Regions from separate parts of the Homo sapiens genome. Here region 2 is linked to region 1. Evidence: promoter capture Hi-C in 16 types of primary human blood cells and fetal thymus (Javierre and others, 2016). All regions are on one chromosome and are shown on one strand. The core of a region is centred on a gene start or on the middle of the fragment in contact, and the rest is flanking DNA. Distances in the headings are between cores, read along the strand shown. Region 1 holds the start of FNDC4 (fibronectin type III domain containing 4). Region 2 overlaps ZNF512 (zinc finger protein 512).

Region 1 (3,521 bases), core at 279-2,778:
GTTAATTACTCACTCATGCAGGCTGCAGCTGATGTGAAGTTGGGTAACAGGAAGCTTAAAAGGCCTTCCCCCAAACAACTCAATACCAGCCTGTCTATACCCAATCCCCTTCCCACCTGCTTTTCTTTCCTTTCCTGGCAGTACAATGAATTAAATCATCCTATTCAACTCAGCTAGTCTGTTGCTTGTCTTGGGGAAGTAAGTAAGAGGCTGCAAGCCAGGTAAGCAGCCAGAGAATCCAATAGCACAGATCCTCACCTGGGCTTGAACTGTTTGAAGGTAGCCGGTCAGAACCCTTGAGAGTTCGGAAGTGCACCCGGGGCCCTGGGGGACTCTCTCCCCGAAGGCCGATGCTCCTGACCTGCACTGTGTAGTCACTGTCTTCAGCCAGGCCCCAGAGGGCACAGGCCCGGGTGGTGGTGTTCACCTCCCGAATCACACGCTGCCCGGGGCCATTCTGCCGCTGCAGGGAGATGAGGGGAGAGGAGGACAGCCTCACCCCAGTGCCAGGCCACAAGGCTCAACCAGAGACTCTTCAACATCCAAGCACTCCGGGGGAGTAGCGTGAAAAGGGCAGCCTGAGCCAGGATACGCCAGCTTCCAGATCCCCCCCACTTAAGTGAAGAAATGTGCCGAAATCCAAGGACACAGGTTGGGGGAGCAGAAGGGTGATTCATACTTGCTGGGAAATGGAGTAGCCAATGACGATGTTGCCTTCTGGGACGTCCCAGGACACAGTGGCCGAGTTGGCTCTGAGGTGAGTGACCGTCACATTCACAGGAGAGGGAGGCCGGTCTGCGGGAGCCAGGGTGTTTAACAGGTTTCACCCATTGACTAGCTGTGGTTGACCCTCAGCCCCGTTCCCCTTTACTTACCTGCTCGCACGAAGCCCAGGTCACAGCTGACCAGCAGGAGGACCGTGGGGCTTAGATATGGGGAAAGGGGCACCAGCGAAGCCATGTCCCCACGGAGTCCGCTGGGGGGGGAACTGTGGCATCCGCTTGGCATCCGCTTGACATCCAGGCGGGGCTCCTGGAGATGGCAGGAGTTGTGGGGGGTCAAGGACTGCCCAGAACGCACGGAGGTCGGGGGGCAGCAGCTCTCCTGGGCTCCCCACAGCTCACAACAGCCCTATTTTCTCTACGCCCTCCCGCCCCCGCATTGCCCGGGCGGCCCCAGAGTGCGGTCCGCCCTGCCCACACCCACCTCCGCCGGTCCTCGCGGTTGGTCAGGCCTCGGGGGGCTGCTCGGTGCCCAGAGGGCGGCCCATCGCCCGACTCGGTGGCGCTGCCCCTACCCCATCCCGGCGCGGGCCCGGCGACGCGGGCAGCGCGGGGCCGAGCTGCGGGCGGAGCGGGCGCGGGTCTGCGGAGCCCCCAGGGCTCGAGCGGGCCACGGAGTCTGTCCGGGAGCAGGGGGCGTTGCCCGGACGCTGGCCTGGGTCCCCGGTGCGGGAGGCAGTGCGGCGGCCTCCGCCCGCCCCTGCAGCGGGATGTGACCGTCCCGGAGAGCCAGCCGCCGCCTTCTGCAGCGCTGGCCCCGCTCGCTCCGCCGCAGCCCGGCCGGGACGCGCGGGCCCGCCCCGCCCAGCCGGGGTTCTCGCCGCCGTCATTCCCCTCCCGCCCCCTCACTCCCGTCCTCTCGGGGCTCCTCCCACGACCCTCCCAATGGCGCCTCCGGAGCCCCCATCCCTTATCCCTTCTCTCTCCCAGCTGAAGCGGACGAGTCGGCGGGGGCGTGGGGGGTGAGACGCGGGTGCTAGGGTCTCCGGCACCTGGGAGATCCCCTTCCTCCCCGCGTGGAAGAGCCAAGTTGGGAAGAGGAATTCCACCTCCAGTGCCCGAGGGGCTAACAGGAGAGGGGAGAGAGTGAGGGAGATAATAATTGCTTTAACAATCCCTTACTTGTAGACTGCGTCAGCTTTTAAGTCTCTTTTCCATTCATAATCTCATTTAATTCCGTTCGCTTTCTCATTCATTCTTTCATTTATTCACCAAATATTTATTGAGCATCTCCTATGTGTCTGGCATTATATTAAAACCTGGAGATACAGTGATTGTTAAGAGTGTTGGGCTTCTCGGGAGAATCAAAGCGCAAAGACCTATGGCTTTTTTAAAAAAATTATTATTCCTTTCTTTTCTTTTTTTGTTTTTCTAAAGCTCTACCACTTACGGTGTGGTTTTGGAGAAACTGGTTTATCTGTGCTTCAGGTTTCCCACCTGTAAAGCAAAGCGTGTGAAATCTCACAGGGTTGTTGTGAGGCTCAAATGAGACGGGAAAGATCTTTATAAATCTCACAACACTATGTGACTGGATGATGGAGATTAATTTGCACCAATCTGTTAGTTACTTCTTTGTTCAATAACATGTAAGCCCTTACATTATATCATGCTTTGGTTGAGCTTGAAATCTGAATTGAGAACCTGGGTGTGAGTCCCAATTTGTCCAGCTGTGTGATCTTAAGCAACCAACTAAACTACTCTGAGCCTGTTTCATCATCTGAAAAATGAGGGTGTCAATATTGACCAACATCTTAGTGTTGGTGTATCCAATGAGATACTGTCTGTGAAAAGTGTGTTGTTCAGTGTAAATAAATGTTGGCTAACATTGTATTTAGGGCAGATTCTTTGGTTTCTAATTCTCAATGCAGTATTTCTGTTTCTGTGGGATTTTTCCCGCTGTAATATCCAGTACAGTGTGTGCACACTTGGGGCTCAGAAGCTTCTACTGCCTTCCTTTCTGAGAGGAGAGGATAAAATGGGACCAGTGGGACTGACTGTGTGTGCTGAGCATGTGATCAAGCCATGGGCCAGGTCCTCTGACTTGTGCTGACTTGGTGACCCTGATCTCTGGCCTCGGAGGACACTTGCCCAGGGATTCTCACTGCCGTGGGTGTTGTCCTGCACTCCCAGGCTCCAGGTCCTCTGTAGAAGAGGGCATTGTCCCGGTAGGGCAAGAGTCCCGAGCCTCAGGTCTTCCTCTTCAGGGGCCAAAGCAGAGGCTGGCGAGTCAGGGTGCTTGCAAAGAGGAAGCCCAGGAGTTTCCCTGGGGTTACCAGAGGGCTGGGGGCCTAGTGACCAGGAAAGGGTGGTGCTCTGAGAGCCCAGGGTGCTTGGGTTAATCATCACTGGGGCTCAGATAAGGCCCTGCCAACTGGAAGCAGAGTCATTGTGACCAGAGGGGTTTGTGTGGCTGAAGAGGCAGGAGGAACAGTGTATCCACAGCGTGGGACCATGCCAGGCACAAAACGGTTTCAACATGTCATTGAGACCCCGGAGCCTGGCAAGTGGGAGGTGAGACCCCTTCTTCATGTTGGCTTTCTGTGCTGATTCCTAGAATTATTTTTCATCCAGTCTTCCCTCCCCGCTGGTTTCTGCTCACCTCTTCTTCCTTCCTGATGTTCTTTCCCTAATATGCCCAGAGCACCAAGTGCAGGCTGAGTTTCTGGTGTGGTATGTGTGTGCGTGTGTGTAAGTCCAAACTCTGTGCCTGCTGCCACTCCCACCTCCAGCTCAGCAGGC
Region 2 (3,521 bases), core at 477-2,976, 110 kb after region 1:
GAAATTTTTTGTATTTTTAGTAGAGACTGAGTTTCACCATGTTGGCCAGGCTGGTCTCGAACTCCTGACCTCAGGTGATCCACCCTCCTTGGCCTGCCGAAGTGCTGGGATTACAGGCGTGAGCCACTGCGCCCGGCCTGGATGTCTTTTACTTATGTGAGTGTAGATATCTCAGTGCAGATGGCTTTGGGATTTTATAAGGGTGTTAGCAAGAAGACCGTTTTGATAAAAGAGTTATGCACAATGAAACCTTTGCAGTGAATCCATAAATATTTGTGTGTTTAGGTTAGCTCCAAAGGTTCATATCTTGGGAGTCAGAGGCTCAGAACTCTTATTTCCATTATATTCACTTCCTTTGTCCAGGAGAAGATGGAGAACACCAGGAGTCAGAAAACTTGGGCTTCATTGGCACCAGCTTAGCTGCCAGTCCAATCCTTGATTCTCCTCTGATATTTTTTTTCCCTGTGTCTTATCTTTTCCATGAATCATCTTCTTGTTTACTTCTCTTGATTTCTAGCCCATTTTGAAAGCCGGAGATGAAATAGATGAGCCAAGTGAGAGGGAAAGGCTCCGAACAGTTCTAAAGAGACTGGGAAAGCTCAGGTGCATGCGTGAGGTAAGGGCCCAAGGACAGCAATTCCTTCTGCCTGAATTCTCAGGTCAATGTCTTTCGTTCTTCTTTCCATTTCTTCTCTTCCTCATTGTAGACTTCCTAGTTCTGTACTATCTTGGTCTCTTGAATCATTAATAGTTGTTTATTTTCTTCCTTATTTCCAAAAATTTATTTTTCTCCCCCTTCCCTTTGTTTGATGGGGTTTCCTTACCATCCTTTTTTTAATGTGATGAAGAGGATCCCAGTGACCCCTCACTGTGCTGGACTTTGGTATATATTGCTGGGTATTTGATATTGGGATGGGGTTGGATCACAGACCAAGGAGAAAGCTCTGACATAGAGTAGATGCACAGTTATAGTTTATCAAGGGCTGACTAAGCTGATTGAAAATCATGCTTGATCAGAGTAAGATGGCCAGAGACAAGGAAGGGTTGTGCTGATGGGAGATGTTGGAGAGGGTCTACTGAAATCAGAGGGTCTATTTGTATTTTGTGGTGGTGAATGCTTTATGGCTGTTTAGAAATTTAGGGATCATGTCAAAAGATGTAAGATTATAGTTTAGGCTTCTCTCCTCTGTTCAGAGTTGCTCCAGTAGCTTCACCAGCATCATGGGATATCTCTACCATGTCAGAAAATGTGGCAAAGGGGCTGCAGAGCTGGAAAAGATGACCCTGAAATGTCACCACTGTGGAAAACCATATAGGTCGAAGGCTGGACTTGCATATCACCTGAGGTCAGAGCATGGGCCTGTGAGTACTGATTCCTTTCTATACCCTGCGTGGGGATGTATTTCGTGGTGAGTCCTTACCCCTCTATCTTCCCATATGTGTTTGGTTCCTCATTTGTATCCTCTTTTAATCTCTGAATGCTTGTGTGTTGTCTCTTCTTTATTCGTTCTTTGTCCTTATTTCTGCCTTTTTAACATTATTAGGTTAGATAAATCAAAATTCAAAGTATAGTCCAGGCAGAAGTAAACTCATTATTATATATTTTATATCTTATATATTTTTATATAGTGTGTGTGTGTGTATATTTTTTTTTTTTTTTTTCTTCAAGAGACAAGATCTTGCTGTCTCAGGCTAGAGTGCAGTGGTGGGATCATAGCTCACTGCAGCCTCGAACTCTTGGGCTCAAGCCATCTTCTTGCCTCAGGCTCCTAAGTAGCCAGGACTACAGGCTTGCGTCACATGCCCAGCTAATTCTTCGTTTTTAATTTTTTGTAGAGACGGGGGTCTCATTATGTAGCACAGGCCAGTCGCAAACTCCTGGCCTCAAGTGATCCTCTTACCTTGACCTCCCAAAGTGCTGGGATTATAGGTGCGAGCCACCCTGCTCAGCCCATTATTTAATTAATTAATTAATTAATTTATGTATTTATATATTTTTGAGACAGACTTTCCCTCTGTTGCCCAGGCTGGAGTGCTGTAGAGCAATCTTGGCTCACTGTGACCTCCGCCTCCTGGGTTCAAGCAATTCTCCTACTTCAGCTTCCCGAGTAGCTGGGATTACAGGTGCGTGCCACCACGCCCAGCTAATTTTTGTATTTTTATTAGAGACGGGGTTTCACCATGTTGGCCAGGCTGGTCTCGAACTCCCGATCTCAGGTGATCTGCCCACCTCGGCCTCCCAAAGTGCTGGGATTATAGGCGTGAGCCACTGTGCCCAGCCCCATTGTTATACTTTTAAAACTAAAGGCATTCCCCCATAGCTAGAGCTTTTATGGGCATCTGTCCAGCTGGTTCCTCTCATTTTTTTGGTTTAAATTTTTTTGTTCTCATTACATTTCCAAGGTTTCCCACCCTGTGGTTTCTTTTTTTTTAGAGTCATTTGTTAAGATACAATTTACACATAGTAATGTTTACCATTTTAGTGCATAATTATAAGAGTTTTGACACATGTATACAGTCATGTAACCACTATCACACTCAACACATAGACTAGGCGGGGTGCCTTAGCTCACACCTGTAATCCCAGCACTTTGGGAAGCTGAGGTGGGTGGATTGCCTGAGTCCAGGAGTTTGAGACTAGGTTGGGCTACATAGTGAGACCCTGTCTCTACAAAAAATGAAAAAATAAGCCAGGCATGGTGGTGTACACCTGTAGTCCCAAGTACTTGGGAAACTGAGGTGGGAGGATCACTTGAGCCCAGAAGGTTGAGGCTGCAGAGCTGTGATCATACCACTGCATTCCAGCCTGGGTGACAGAGTGAGACTCTGTCTCAAAACAAACAAAAAAAAGATGTTTTACAATTCCATCACTACCTCAAGTTGACTTGTGTCCCTTTAGTCAGCCTTTTCCTCCAGCTACAGCCTCTGGCAACCACTGATTTATTTTCTGACCCTATAGTTTTACCCTTTTCAGAATGTCATATAAATTGAATCATACAGCATGTAGCCTTTCAGTCTGACTTCTTTCATTTACCATAATCCATTTGTGATTCATCCATGTGTTGCATGTATCATTAGTTTATTCCTTTTTTTTTCTGACTAGGATTTCATTATATGGATGTTTCAAGTTTGTCGTTTATCTGCTTACCAGTTGAAGAACATTTGGTTGTTTCTAGTTTTTGATGATTACGAATAAAGCTGCTATAAACATTCACAAAGGTTTTTGGGCTGGGCACAATGACTCATGCCTGTAATCCCAGCACTTTGGGAGGCTGATGCAGGTGGATTGCTTGAGCTCAGGAGTTCGAGACCAGCTGGGCAACATGGTGAAACCCCATCTCTACAGAAAATACAAAAATTAGCTGGGTGTGGGTGGTGCACGCCTGTAGTCCCAGCTACTTGGGAGGTTGAGGCGGGAGGATGGTTTGAGCCCAGGAGGCGGAGATTGCAGTGAGCCGAGATGGTGCCACTGCACTCCAGCCTGGGTGACAGAGCAAGACCCTGACTCAAAAACAAAAAAT

What was found. Contacts are between HindIII fragments. The CHiCAGO score rates a contact against its expected background, and 5 or more counts as called.
Region 2: a contact is called between a fragment that was not itself captured here and the fragment with the promoter of FNDC4 in region 1, in 1 of 17 cell types (endothelial precursors). The highest score is 5.7, in endothelial precursors.

The regions. Positions count from the first base shown.
Region 1 is chr2:27,493,672-27,497,192 of GRCh38, forward strand. FNDC4 (fibronectin type III domain containing 4) reads right to left here and starts at 1,529. Exons shown (of 7, transcript NM_022823.3): 1 at 1,207-1,529; 2 at 876-1,032; 3 at 680-795; 4 at 259-463. The coding sequence starts at 1,008. It overlaps GCKR (glucokinase regulator), which reads left to right and starts at 3,168. Exons shown (of 19, transcript NM_001486.4): 1 at 3,168-3,293. The coding sequence starts at 3,234. The HindIII fragment of the contact is 2,667 bases long and covers 53-2,719 here.
Region 2 is chr2:27,601,946-27,605,466 of GRCh38, forward strand. It overlaps ZNF512 (zinc finger protein 512), which reads left to right. Exons shown (of 14, transcript NM_032434.4): 8 at 518-616; 9 at 1,195-1,362. Among named protein-coding and RNA genes, the nearest start is that of ZNF512, 21 kb to the left of the region's middle. The HindIII fragment of the contact is 8,004 bases long and covers 1-3,521 here.